4 separate regions of the Homo sapiens genome follow, and regions 2, 3 and 4 are each linked to region 1. The links are contacts of gene promoters, found by promoter capture Hi-C in blood cells and fetal thymus (Javierre and others, 2016). All regions are on one chromosome and are shown on one strand. Each heading gives the region's core, a stretch centred on a gene start or on the middle of the fragment in contact. The rest is flanking DNA. Distances are from core to core; before and after follow the strand shown.

Region 1 (3,397 bases), core at 295-2,794:
CTCACTTAAAAGTGGGATCTTTTAAGTGAACAAAAAAGAGGGGAACAACATACAGTGGGGCCTGTTGGGGCAGGGGTGGGGAGAGCATCAGGATAAATAGCTAATGCATGCTGGGCTTAATATCTAGGTGATGGGTTGACAGTTGCAGCAAACCACCATGTTTTTACCTATGTAACAAACCTGTACATCCTGCACATGTAGCCTGGAACTTAAAATAAAATTAAATTAAAATTAAAAAGAAAACAGCACCACCACCATCAAGGAAAGCCTGTTCCCAACCTCCAATTCCAGCTCACTAGCTCAGCCTGTCTCATTCCCCTTTTTCTCTCTCCCCTCTCCTCCCTGCCCCTTTCCTCACTTTGCCCCCACCTGTCCTCACCATCCCACCCCATACCTCCAAGCTCACAGCTAGAACTGACCAAAGGCCCAGTTATTTATTTACAAAGTCCATGTCCAGAACTGTACCAGCCTCAGCGGTGTGGAATAAACTGGTGTGGCCAGGTCCATTGTGCTGATGCCTCAAGAGATCCAGGCTGGTACAGATGGGTCTGGCACATTCTGTACCTGCCAGCCAAGCAGAGCATCCAGCTTACTTCTCACTCGACTCCTTACATAACGCTCGTCGGGTACTCTCCATTCCTTGGGCTTAAATTCCATAGTGTAATATTAGTAAACCAGGCTAAATGATCCTAAGGATCTTGCTAGCTCTGACGCACCGTGATCTTGCATCCAATTCAGTTCACTCTGTAATAAATAATCATAATAACAATAGTAATTTTCCAAATAGCTAACAGTTATTGTGTACTGTATGCTAAGCACTATTCTATGTATTTCATGTGAATGTTTAACATTCATAACACCACTTATCATGTAGACATCATTTACTGCCCTAATTTACAGTGAACTGGAGCTCCGAGAGTCACGTTGATTTAACCACAGTCCCAGGCTACCAAGTGTCCAAGCTGTGCTGCTTCCAAGCTGCCTGACCCAGACCTGAGCTCTTAACCTCTCAATGGGCATCCAGGTCGAAAGCAGAATCTCTGGCTCAAGTGCCGACTGCCCAGCTGTTTCAGAACTCCACCATGCACCCAACTGCTCCTCCAGGACTTCCCTACGGATGTGTTGCAGGCTCTGAAACGTCACACATCCACGCCGCATCCTCATCCCACACATGCTCCTGCTTGTCCCTGGCATCTGCCATTCTCAGTGCCATTCACTAGCCTATATGATGCCTTCGAATCAGAGGAAGTTACCTCTCCCTCCAGGGATACGGGCCCACACCTGGTCTCAGGGACCCTTTAGTGGAGGCACAGTCTATATAGCCCAGAGCAGTGCCCCTGATGCCATCGTCTTCCAATTTGCTCAGAGCAGACACTGGGATTCATCCTTAATATCTCTCTCTTCTCTCTCTCTCTCTCTCTCTCTCTCTCGCGGAGGCCCCACTGCCCTTGCATTCCACAGGAAGTCCCAGTTGCTGGCATGACCTGAGAGGTTCCTGGGACCACGCCATGGAAATGCGTCCGGTCCCAGTGTGACGGGGAAGAGCCGCGCCTGAAGCTCAACTTCCGAGGCTCTCATCAATCTACGCTTCCTTTGGAGCGTGCAGCCACCAGGTGGCAGCCGAGGCCACGGGCAGACAGAAAAGCTCCCGAAACTGAAGGACTGCCAGGCAGCAGAGTTCCGGAGGGCTCCCAGGACCTTCAACCAGAAAGAGACAGAGCATATGCGCATATGTATGTCTGAGCCCGTGCACGGAGGAGGAGTATGAACAGACACCGCGGGACAGATGGCTGGAGTTTAGTCCCTTCCTTCGGGGCTCTTCACCACTCCTTGGGCTTCCCTTCTCCTGTCCAGCCCTGTCCTGGGTGCACAGAGAGGGAAGTCACTCCATTCCTGCCCTTGAGGAGCTCCCAGACCCAGGGCAGGAGCAGGATGCAGACAAGTAGACAGCACCCTGGGGTGGGTGGAGTGAGTGGGGCAGGTGGGGCGGGTGCAAAGAGAGGGAGGAGCAGGGGCTGAAGTTGCCCGGAGGAAGTGCTGAACCCAGGAGTGGGGAAAGGAGCATCTGGGAAGAAATGGCATCTACGCTGATCATGGAGGGCTTTCTGGCAAGTCTCAGGAGCAATAATAACACGGATGTCATCTCTGTTTCCTCCCAGCAGCCCTGCAAGGAATGTACTATAGAGCCAATTTTACCGGCAAAGGAATGGAAGATCTGAAAGGCTAGGCGATCCCACAAGCATCGAGGAGCAGGCTGGAATTTGAACCAATCGGCATGATTCCCAAGCTCAAGCTTTTGGCCACCCCTGCACTGCCAGGGACAAAAAAAAAAAAAAAAAAAAACCCTGGGAGGAGAGCCAAGCTAGGGAGTCAAGACCCTCCAGCCAGGTCTGGATGGGAGGCAGGTGCCTCCACCCTGGTCCCAGAGCAAGTTCTGCTGGCTTCAGCCACCTGACTTCCCTGTGAAGGTGGGTAGAGGCCAGAGCAGACTGTGTGTGATTCTGGCCCCAGCCCCAGCACCTCTACCCCCACCTTTACTACCCCTAGGCTGCGGGAAGAGGCTTTGCCCAGCAATAGTCCTGATCTAATGGATCCTTGAAGCACAATAAACAGATAGTATTTCTGCATGTGTCACTCTGAGTATGACGGCAGTAATCTTGAAACTCCCCTTGACCACCTGGCACTCTGGAGACGGAACTCCACAGCCTGTTTTCAAAGCCAACTCCTGGCTGGAAGTTCCTCTTCAAGTCTAAATGAAGTAAGCAGTGCTGCAGTCTTCCCTCAACTGTGCAGTTGCTGGGTGGAGGCTTTTCTTTTCTGCCTGAGTTTGGGTATAACCTATAATGTAACCCTATGAAACTTACATGTTTTAGGTGGGAGAGGGGAAAACAAGGTGCAAGCCCTGTTCCAGGAAGAGCAAAAATGTCCTCAACAGTAAGAGGACATTCTGGGCTGAGAGCCAGGGCTTGAGGCAGCCTGCAATCCTGGCAGATAGCTGGTGGAAGGGACCACAGAGAGATGATACCACACACAGAAGTGAGACCAATGAGATCGTGGGAACTGCCCGGCCAAGGGTTGACATCAAGGAAGCTTAGGAGGCAGGGGACAGCTGGGAAGGGGACAACCAAGAGAACCAGCTGGAAACTGAAAAGGGATGCAAGAGAGAAAGAGGAGGTGGGCACTGAGCTCAGGTGGAGGAGGAGAAAGGCAAACAGGAGAGAGAGAGGCAGAGGATGAGACAAAAACAGAGGTGGAGAGACTGAGAAACAGGGAGACAGAGATGGATGGAGGCTGGGAGAGACAAAGAGGAGACAGGCCTGGGCAGGAGAGGTCCTACGTGGGGAGAAAAGGTTGGGAAGAGAGCAGGAAAGAGAGAAGGAGCACAGGTGTCTGGAGG
Region 2 (3,397 bases), core at 383-2,882, 580 kb before region 1:
AGAGCTATATTAGAGGGTCAGCCTTTGCTACAGAAGATGGAAAGGGGAACAACTAATCCAGCAGAAGGCTCAGAAAAGCTTCACCATGGAGGCCACATGAGATGTAAGAGATGTAAGCCTTGAAAGATGAGGAGGAGGAGGGAAATCCAGGAAGAGAGAATATAAGCAAAGGCTCGAGCAGGAACATGCAGGGAGTGTTTGAGAAACAGAGATTTGGCCGGGCACGTTGGCTCACATCTGTAGTACCAGCACTTTGGGAGGCCCAGGCAGGCGGATCACCTGAGGTCAGAAGTTTGAATCCAGCCTGGCCAACATGGCGAAACCCCGTCTCTACTAAAAATACAAAAATTAGCCGGGTGTGGTGGCTCATGCCTGTAATTCCAGCTACTCAGGAGGCTGAGGCAGGAGAATCACTTGAACCTGGGAAGTGGAGGTTGCAGTGAGCCGAGATTGTGCCACTGCACTCCAGCCTGGGTGACAAAGTGAGACTCCATCTCAAAAAAAAAGGAGAAACAGAGACAACTAGTTTATTTTGACTGAAGCACAGGTTGCAGGTTTGGGAAAACCAAGGGAAACAGGGAGGGGAGAGGTGTGGGAACAAATTGTGCAGGAACTTGTCTGAGGCTGGAGTCCAAACTCTACATCCAGCTTGTCCAACCCGCGGCCCTGGATGGCTCTGAATGTGGTCCAACACAAATTCATAAACGTTCTTAAAACACTGAGATTTTTTTGCAATTTTTTTAAAGCTCATCAGCTATTGTTAATGTTAGTGTATTTTATGTGTGGCCCAAGATGGTTCTTCTTCTTCCAATGTGGCCCAGGGAAGCCAAAAGATTGGACACCACTGCTCTATATAGTAGGCAATGATGCCCACCAAGGTTTCCGAGTAGTGTCTCAGGAAGAGCACAAGGGCACCCATGAAGAGGATGCAAAAGGAACTAAGTAATTCAATTACTCTGGGACCACATTACAGGAGACCACATGCACTTTCTAAGCACGTGCTGGGCTCTGACAGCTCCTGTTCACAGAGCTTCCCTCTCCCATGGCTTCGCTTCATGCAATCTGAGTTGCCATCCCCCACAACTGTCAACATCTGCAAAATACCAGAGTAACAGGACTCCTAACCAACTCTCTGGATTACAGAGAGAGAAGTGTTGAGGTGGGAGCAGATGGGCAGAGGGGGCACCAAAGCCTCTAGCTGGCTCAGTTCCATATAAAACCCAACCCTGGATTTCCTCTTCACATCACTTCCAGCCCAGCCCTCTAATGAAGGGCTGAAGCTAAGGAGAGTGGGCTGAAAGCACCTGGCTGATGGGTGGTGATCCAGTGAGACATTACACCTACTGTCCAGCATGTGCCTGGCGCATGGGCAGTGGTGCCCTTCCCATTCTGCAGGGTCAGTTCCATCTGTAAATCCCACTGAGGCTTCAAGGCCCAGGTCACAACAACTCTTCTCTCAGAGCCTTTCTAAAGTACCCCAATCCAAAATGACCAAGCTCCTAGAAATCACAGCTACCATGTATTCAGCACCCATTACATGACAGGCGCCATACTAGGTGACTTCCATATAATCCTATTCACCCTTCACAATGACCCTATTATGGCCATTTCCTAGGGAAGAAAGTGAAGCTCTGGGAGGGGAAGCAGACTTGCCCCAGGACACACAGCTAAGAGGTGGAAGAGATGAGATCTAAACCCAGGACTCCCTGACCCTGAAGTTGAGCACTTCTAACAACACTTCATTCCTGTGAGCCTGCCTGCCTCTGATCTGCCACTGTCAGGGAGCTTGGAGCTCTCTAGAAGACAGGGTGCACCTGACACTCTTATTACCTTTCCCTGTGGACAGCCATCCACACAGGCAGGAGCCTTTAAATACTGAAAATAAATGAAAACAATTAACTTAAAAATAACGCAGTACACAGATTTCACAAATTCCTCACGTGAAAAACTATTCATGATACTGGACTGCCTGAGCCCTGCGCCCAGCCATAGCCTCGGTCCTGATCCCTGGGAGAGACTGAGTCTCAAACGGGCCACAGAGTAAGCGCCATCTCGGACACCGGCCACGCCCCGACCCCAGGCACAGAGGTCGCAGACAGCTCGGGACAGTCCTGAAAAGCGTCCCCTTAGGCTGTCCCTCCGCAGCTGAATCGCGTCGTGACCTCGGGCAGCCGTGAAGGCCCTGACTGCCCCCTTCCGGGCACACGAGCTCACTCACAGACCCCGGCCCCATTTAGCTCGGAGGAATACCTCGCAGGTCTCGCTTTTACCTTCGCTGGCTCCCGCCGGGGAGCGGTCGCGCGCACCCCTACCTGCAGATCGCTCCTCCGAGAACGCGGAAGAGGCGGTGCTAGATCCAGGGGGTGGGCCCGATCAGAGAGGAGGGTGAGGGGGCGGAGCTGCGCCTGCGCCCTGATGGCTACCCAGGGCCGCCTGAGGGCAGGGGGCTCGAGCTGAGCGAACTGCGCAGGCGTGACAGGGAAGAGGCGGGGAGAGGGGAGATTGCTGGCAAGCGGGTGGGGCTTAGCTCCTCCGGCGCTTTCTTTTCCGAATGGAGGGTGGAGAAGCCCGGGAAGGTAGGAGGCCGGGCGCGACAGGTGTAATTAACATGTACTGAGAGCTTCTGCAGGCCAGGAAGGAATTTTAAAATGCCTTTTATATGTGGGGAAATGCTGCTAGTCTTTTCTAAAACGGGGGCCAATTCTGTACAATTTCTTTAAAAGTCTGAGTGCCTAGAATTTCACCATAAGAGTTTCTCCTTGAGTACAACATTATCCCCAGTATTTCAAAATTTTTAAAACTTTTAAAAGTTCATTTCTTGGGGAAAAACAACTGTAAATAGGTTAATGCCTCAACCAGTCTCCCCACATCCCCTTCCCAAGTCTGCAGCTGCGATGAGAAAGGATGAGAGTGTGGACTGGGATTTAATTCAGGCGCTGACTCCGAGTGATGGAGGTGAACATCCCTTCCCTGCCTGTCTCAGGATTATCGTGAGGATTTGGTAAGCCAAGCTAGTTAAAGAGCCCCAGGGACTTGCTTCCCATCATCCACCTGACAAACATTTGTTCCCTGTCTTGTCGGGGCTGTCTTTTCATCTGTATGATGGAAGGAGATTGGGAATATTAGTGAACATTCAGGACTTTGCTAGATTTCCCAATCTGGGTGAAGGCCGGAGAGGCGGAAGATCAAGCTTCTGTGTTCATTCCCTTCTGGAATCCTGCGGTCCAACCTGAGGGCCCCGATGTATCCTGACTTCTCCCACTCATTACCTTCCGTGGAGGCCGATCCAAGCTTCAAGTCTTCAGAGGCCCTGCTGGCCTGTTCCCTTCCCTGTTGCCTGTGGCAATAGCCCAAGAGATTCAGGACCTATGTTCCAGGTTCTCAAAGTTGCTATGTC
Region 3 (3,397 bases), core at 279-2,778, 560 kb before region 1:
GACATGCACTAAAATTCTGTGTGACCATGGACAAGGCACTTGTTCTCTGAGCCTATTTCACCTTCTCTAAAGTAAAGACAACAACAACAACATCTGCCCCACAGAAGAGCTGAGAGAATCAAATGTGATAGCACTTGTAAACAGTAGAAGGCTGTGGTCAGTCTGTTTCAGGGGTACTGCCTTCAAACACCCAGCAGGTGTTTGTGTGGAAGAGGGACTGAGCTTGTTCCAGGGTCCTGGAGAGCAGTGGGCAGACACCCAGGACAATATGAAGGGGCGCTTGGCACATCAGAGCTGTCCAACCATGCAGCCGGGATGGCTGTGCTGTTCTCTCAAGAGGGAGTGGTGCAAGCAGAAGTTACCAGTCCCGGGTGACATGGACTTCAGAGGGTTTCAGTCCCTCCAGAGACGGGGAGGGCCGTCTTGCCTCTAAGAACCTCAGGCTCCAGTGTTCTCTGCTCCAAGCTCCTCCTCCTTCCCAGCCATCTCCCCTTAAGGTAGAGGCATTCCTCTCATCTCTTCCATCTTGGGAAGGAGACCTCTGGAGGCTGGGTGGAAGCCTAGTGTGTATAAGTGCCTGAAGACAATTTCACAGCCCTCAGACCTCACCCTCAACATGGCCCCAGTAGGCATTGTCCCCTCCAACCACTTGGGTTAGTTCCCAGCCTGGGGTGCCCCACGAGTGGAGGTGATAGTTGTGGGGGAGGGGTGGTTTCACCAGTGTTCCAGGCTCAGCTTTCCATGGAACCCACTATGAAGGCTGCCCAGGAAATTCTGTCCAACCTAGCCCCTTCTCTGCTGCTGGGGTGCCTCCATGTCAGCCTCTGGGGCTGCCGCCTGGAGCAACCCCCACTTAGTTCAAAGCTCTTCTATAGAAAGCCCTCAGATTGCCCCAGTCTGGATGCACCCTCCTCCTTCCTCCACAGCACAGCATCCTTTCTCCAAGTGTGTTCAGTAACACCTGCCTCCCTGCCTCAGAGTTGCCAGCAGGGATGGGGGTTTCTTATGGTCCCCAGAGAGCTGGGTGTTATCTTTTAGCAATAATGGTAGTAAATTATGGCTGGGCGCAGTGACTCATGCCTGTAATCCCAGCACTTTGGGAGGCCAAGGCGGGCGAATCATAAGAGGTCAGGAGTTTGAGACCAGCTTGGCCAACATGGCAAAACCCTGCCTCTACTAAAAACACAAAAATTAGCCGGGCATGGTGGCTTGCACCTGTAATACCAGCTACTCAGGAGGCTGAAGCAGGAGAATCGCTTGAACCCAGGAGGCAGATGTTGCAGTGAGCCGAGATCCAGCTTGAGTGATACAGCGAGACTCTGTCTCAAAAAGAAAAAAAATAAAATAATGGTAGTAAATTATGATTTCAACTATTATGGTGGTGTGAAAACACATCAATTTCTTCTATTTGTTCATTCATTCTTACATTCCACAAGTATTTACTGAGGGCCCGTTAGATGTCAGGCACTGTGTTGGCCAGTTGCAGACCTTCCCCTTGCTTTGTGGGTGGTGACAAAGGCCTCGGTCTTCTAAGGAACTTCCACTGGGCCCACGAGTCCCACTGGCTACAAAGGAATATTATTGAACAACAGGTCAGGGAGGAGTGGCTTGTAAAAGGGAAAGGTTCTTGGATATCATTTAGTCTAATCTCCTCGAAGTATGTGGAAAACTGAGACATAGGGAGAGGAAGAGATCAGCCCAATGATGAATCATGACAATAAAAACCATTCAGTGAACCTTACGTATGCCTCTCCCTGAGAGGCATATTCTCATTTCTTCTTCTCAGCAACCCTGGGAGAGAGGGAGGTTTATCTTTCTAGAGCTTTTAAGTTGTTCTTCCCTTCAGAGAGGGACGGAGGGGCTGGAAAGAAAGTTCCACTAAGTAGAGAGAAGGGATTGGCCGTGTTTAGATGACGTTCCAAACTCTACACTGCAGCTCTCTTTGGGTCCCATCTTGGCTTCATGTCCAGGAGATGGGAGAGCTGTGTCTGCTGCAGCGGGAAGCAGCAATTCAGTGGGTGGAGTCCACTTCTTATTGGAGACTCATGCTGCACCCCGTAGAGTCTGGATTCCACACAAGTACAGCTTGTGACTTCCTGCAGAATGTCATCAAATTGCATTTGGGGCCTTTTCAAGAAGTAGCTGTAGGAGCTCCGCTTTGCCTAAGGCTAAGCAGACTAAGGGTATGCTCTTGGCTTTCCCAGGAAGTTTTCCTAAATTACACCAGCTGCCTGGAACCAACCCTCCTCAGGGGGGAGCCCTTGACACAAAAAGTTCTCAGTGGTTTGCAGATGCACTCCTTGGTTAAGCCCATGGAGGTTGTGTCTTCCCTTTTGGACTATAAGCCCTTAGAATTGGGTTTTTATTTATTTTGCCTCCTCCCATGTTACCTTGTAGCAGCAACTGACAGTTGTAAGGAATGTTCTGGTTTACAAAGTGCTTTTACTACTCTTTTTTTTTTTGAGATGGAGTCTCGCTCTGTCACCTAGGCTGGAGTACAATGGCGTGATCTCGGCTTACTGCAACCTCCGCCTCCCAGGTTCAAGTGATTCTCCTTCCTCAGCCTCCTGAGTAGCTGGGATTACAGGCACACACCATCACGCCCAGCTAATTTTTGTAGAGACAGGGTTTCGCCATTGTTGGCCAGGCTGGTCTTGAACTCCTGACCTCAGGTGATCTTTCCGCCTCAGCCTCCCAAAGTGCTGGGATTACATGCGTGAGCCACCGTGCCCGGCCTACTCTGGTCATTTTTGAGCCCTGTAACAACCTTGGAATGTGAGTATTGGCTCCAAAAGGTGAAATGACTTGGCCAAGAAGCACAGCTTGAAATGGCAGAGCAGGGCCGGGTGGGGTGGCTCATGCCTGTAATCCTAGCACTTTGGGAGGCTGAGGTGGCAGATTGCTTGAGCTCAGGAGTTAGAGACCAGCCTGGGCAACATGGCGAAACCCCATCTCTACTAAGAAAATACAAAAATTAGCCAGGTGCGGTGGTGCATGCCCATGGTCTCAGCTATTCAGGAGGCTGAGGCAGGAGGATTGTTTGAGCCTGGGAGGCGGAGGTTGCAGTGAGCCAAGACTGTTCCAAAGCACTCTAGCCTAGGTGACAGAACAAGACTTTTGTCTTTAAAAAGCAAGCAAGCAAGCAAGCAAGCAAGCAAGCAAGCAAGCAAGCAAGCAAGCAGAGCTGAGACTCAAAAACAGGTCTCCCAGCTCCAGTCACAGGGTCTATCCTTCTGCCTGACACTGCCTGAGCACTTAGCAAATATACTGTTAGTAAGTTAGGCAAAGAACAAGTCAGTTTGAATTGGGGCTAGACACTTTCTAAAAAATGCTCTCCTGGGAAAGTAGATGATAATGAAGACATCTGTGCCTGGATCCATGTTAAAGCAATTGGCAG
Region 4 (3,397 bases), core at 582-3,081, 520 kb after region 1:
CCCTCTCACTACAGATAGGGAGGCTGAAAAAACTGGGAGGGCCTTGCCCTAGGTCAGTGTCAGAGTGGAAATAACACTGGGCTGGGGCCAGGAGACCGGGTCTCTGGTTCTTGCCTGGGCTGAGTCCAGACCTCAGTTGCAGACTGTAGCCTTACCTCTAACCCCTAGGTTACCATGAGATGGGAGGAAAGATCACAGCTTCTTAGGGCCCATCTCAACCACAGAACCATATGAACCACTTAATGGCTATTTGCATCCGGGACACACTCTTCACTGAAAAAGGATGCCATGATCTTACCAATTTGGAAGTTTGGTGCAGTGGGCTTATTAGAGCACTGTAGCAGAGGTGTGACATTCACAAAAGTCACTTTAACCTCTCTGGACTTGAGCTTCCTCATCTGTAAAATGAGGATAATAATCCCCCTCGCCCCCCTCCACCCACTGCCAACTATCCCCTCAGCTTCTGATGAGGGTCAAAGGAGATACTGATTCAGTCTTTTGTTAGATGAATGTGTTTACATGTGAAAGAATAAATATTAAAATTATACCTATTGTTTTGTTATTATTTGGTGTTTACTCTCCTTCCTGGCTAGCCAGAAAGAGCTGGTGTTTTTTGAAGACCTAAGCCCGGGAGCAAATTTTTCCTGGTCAAAGAGGCCAAGAGTGGGCCCAGGATCTCTGCCAGGACCTGCCAGGGCCCAGAAGATTTGGGGAGGGGAGCTGCAGCATTAGAGGGCTGAGACCCCTTTATCCTTGATTAGGTCCAAAGCTGTTGGGTGGAACTGTGGCACCTGCAGAGTTAACCGCGTCCATGGTGTATCATTGCGCTAAGACAGGCTTAGAGAGAGCTCAAGGGGCCTACATTTAAATACACACCTTTCTGTTTCCACAGCTCATGTATTTTAGGGAGGAAAATTTAATCCATATACTTTTAGTTCATTTGCATTAAAGTCATCACAAAGCTTTGTCTGAGCCATTTTGAGCTTGTGTGGCCTGTTGGAGAACCTTCACTGTCTTTCGAAGGCCTTTTCTTCCTCTCTAGGCAAACAGGAAATCATACTCTGCCCAGGAGCAACCAACCTGAAACCTTCAGCGCTGCCTGCCTCACCTGCCTTCTCACACCTGGAAATGACAGGCCGAGATCAAGTTCCTCTGGAGCCCAGGAAACTCTCATGCCTGACAATTAAATGCCTCCATGATTTGCCCCAAGCTATCTTGATAGCAGTTGTACCCTAACCACCAGGCAGGGTGATGTTCATGGAAACCTCTGTTCCTGCCATTCCCTCTCCCCTGGCTACATTTCCTCCTGACATTTTGCCCATTCTCTGAGGCCCAGCTGCGGCTCAACCTCAGCCTTCCCTTGATCATCCTTATGCAAGCAGTTGCATAAGCAGTTGCCGGCTCAGGATTCAGTACTAAGTGTCATTGGTAAACGTTTATTGGATGGATGAATGGAATGGTGGATGACAGGGGCTGGGATAATTTATCCTATATTTTCTTCTTGCTTCTCCCTCTTCTGAAATGTGTCTGGCCCAGGTTTTGGTACACACGGAGGTTTGAGGAATGCCTAAAGAATGAATGCACGTGCAGTGAATGGATGGCTGTAGAAATCCATTTATAGAGCACATGCTATGGGCTCTGCATGGGGCCAGATGCTGGTATCACAGCTGTGAAGAAGACATGCTTCCTGCCCTCATCTTTCACATTGTAGCTGAGAAGTCAGGCAGACACTGGGAGTTGCACAATCTATGATGTATTTAGTTACTCTTGTGATAAGTTTGAGGAGGGAGGAAAATGAATATGTGTATGAGTGAAGAAAGGAGTAAACAAATAGAATGAGGGAGGAAATGAATATGTACATGAATAAAAGAATACTGGGGAGAATAATTAATGGAATGATGGATGAAGATGAATTCATTGTGAAGGAAAAGACCCCAAGCCGTGTGACACAGTATTTGTGGACACAAGGCCTAGAGGCCACTAGGCCACTGTGGCCTGAAGTCAGCCCCTCTTTTGTTTCCCAGGGTGCAGGAGCAGCAGGTGGGTGGGGAGAGGTAAGGCCCTCTGCATCCTGAGGTTGGCAGCACTGCTACCATCTTAGCATCTCCCAAACTTTAGTCTCAGAAAGGGTGGGTGTTTGTGACTTTAACCTGGAGAATCTCAGGGCCTGCAGGGCTGGATTTTTCTTTTTTTTTGAGACAGTCTCACTCTGTTGCCCAGGCTGGAGTGCAGTGGTGTGATCTCGGCTCACTGCAACCTCCGCCTCCTGGGTTCAAGCAATTCTCCTGCCTTAGCCTCCTGAGTGGCTGGGACTACAGACGCACACCACCATGCCTGGCTGCTTTTTTTTTTTTTTTTTTTTTTTGAGATGGAGTCTCGCTCTGTCACCAGGCTGGAGTGCAGTGGTGCAATTTCGGCTCACTGCAACCTCGGCTCACTGCAACCTCCATCTCCTGGGTTCAAGCGATTCTATTGCCTCAGCCTCTTAAATAGCTGGGATTACAGGCATGCGCCACCACGCCCTGCTAATTTTTGTATTTTTAGTAGAGATGGGGTTTCACCATGTTGGCCAGGCTGATCTTGAACTCCTGACCTCAGGTGATCCACCCATCTCGGCCTCCCAAAGTGCTGGGATTACAGGAGTGAGCCACCCCACCTGGCCACAGGGTCTGAGTTTTGCTCAGCACATGGCATAATCCTCAAAGCTTTCACAATCATATCCACACCACACGTATCCTCCACTGGGAGAAATCAGCTGGAGAGGGAAGGGCCTGCCCAAGGCCCCAACACCAGAGTCCTGACCTCCAGGAGCCTGAGACAGACAAGGCCCATTTTGACTTAGCTCCTTTCGTCCCCCTCTGAGTTCTCCTAATCCTCTCCCTTTGTGCCCCCTCCAGCCCCACAGGCCCTACCCTCTCCTGGCACATGCTGGGCACGCTCCTGCCTTGGAGCCTTGGTGCTCCTAATTCCCTTTGCCTGGGATGCTCCCTCTAGATGTCTGCAGGGCTCACTCTTGCTTCCTTCCAGTCTTCTCTCAGAAGTTACCCTATTAGCGAGGCCTTCTGTGGCTACTGTATCCATAATTTTGTCACTGACCCCTTCCTTTGATATCCCATTCCCTTGCTTTGATGTTTCTTTATAGCACTTATCCTTATCTAACACTGTATGTTTTTCTTATTAGTTTATGATCTGTTTCTCCCATGATCTGTTTCTCCCACTAGGATGTAAACTCCAGGAGGGCAGAGATTTCATATTGCTTTGTTCACTACTGTATCCCAGCAGCTGGAATCCAGCCTGACACACAGTAGTTGCCCACCCCATATGCACTGAATGGATGAATGAAGCAAACTCTCAAACCCGGCCTCTCCTCTCCATCTAAAAGTCACTCTCATTGTCT

What was found. The method cuts DNA at HindIII sites, captures the fragments that hold promoters and counts their contacts. A CHiCAGO score of 5 or more calls a contact.
Region 2: a contact is called between a fragment that was not itself captured here and the fragment with the promoter of LINC00853 in region 1, in 1 of 17 cell types (erythroblasts). The highest score is 5.3, in erythroblasts.
Region 3: a contact is called between a fragment that was not itself captured here and the fragment with the promoter of LINC00853 in region 1, in 2 of 17 cell types (megakaryocytes and erythroblasts). The highest score is 7.2, in megakaryocytes.
Region 4: a fragment that was not itself captured here is called in contact with the fragment with the promoter of LINC00853 in region 1 in 6 of 17 cell types (naive CD8 T cells, total B cells, total CD4 T cells and 3 more); the score reaches 8.4 in naive CD8 T cells.

The regions. Positions count from the first base shown.
Region 1 is chr1:47,177,706-47,181,102 of GRCh38, forward strand. It overlaps LINC00853 (long intergenic non-protein coding RNA 853), which reads left to right and starts at 1,545. Exons shown (of 2, transcript NR_047498.1): 1 at 1,545-1,733; 2 at 2,163-2,634. CYP4A22-AS1 (CYP4A22 antisense RNA 1) reads right to left here and starts at 1,918. Exons shown (of 6, transcript NR_199717.1): 1 at 1,485-1,918; 2 at 420-744. RefSeq lists an enhancer at 1,416-1,917. The HindIII fragment of the contact is 3,617 bases long and covers 1-2,291 here.
Region 2 is chr1:46,601,915-46,605,311 of GRCh38, forward strand. MKNK1 (MAPK interacting serine/threonine kinase 1) reads right to left here and starts at 2,354. Exons shown (of 13, transcript NM_001135553.4): 1 at 2,271-2,354. RefSeq lists enhancers at 1,668-2,168, 1,936-1,985 and a silencer at 2,316-2,535. The HindIII fragment of the contact is 3,112 bases long and covers 77-3,188 here.
Region 3 is chr1:46,620,410-46,623,806 of GRCh38, forward strand. It overlaps LOC105378697 (a long non-coding RNA gene), which reads right to left. Exons shown (of 3, transcript XR_947297.2): 2 at 1,427-1,565; 3 at 1,286-1,319. Among named protein-coding and RNA genes, the nearest start is that of MOB3C, 5.3 kb to the left of the region's middle. The HindIII fragment of the contact is 4,348 bases long and covers 1-3,397 here.
Region 4 is chr1:47,698,351-47,701,747 of GRCh38, forward strand. All of the region lies in intron 2 of LINC01738 (long intergenic non-protein coding RNA 1738), which reads left to right. Among named protein-coding and RNA genes, the nearest start is that of LINC01738, 12 kb to the left of the region's middle. The HindIII fragment of the contact is 1,743 bases long and covers 961-2,703 here.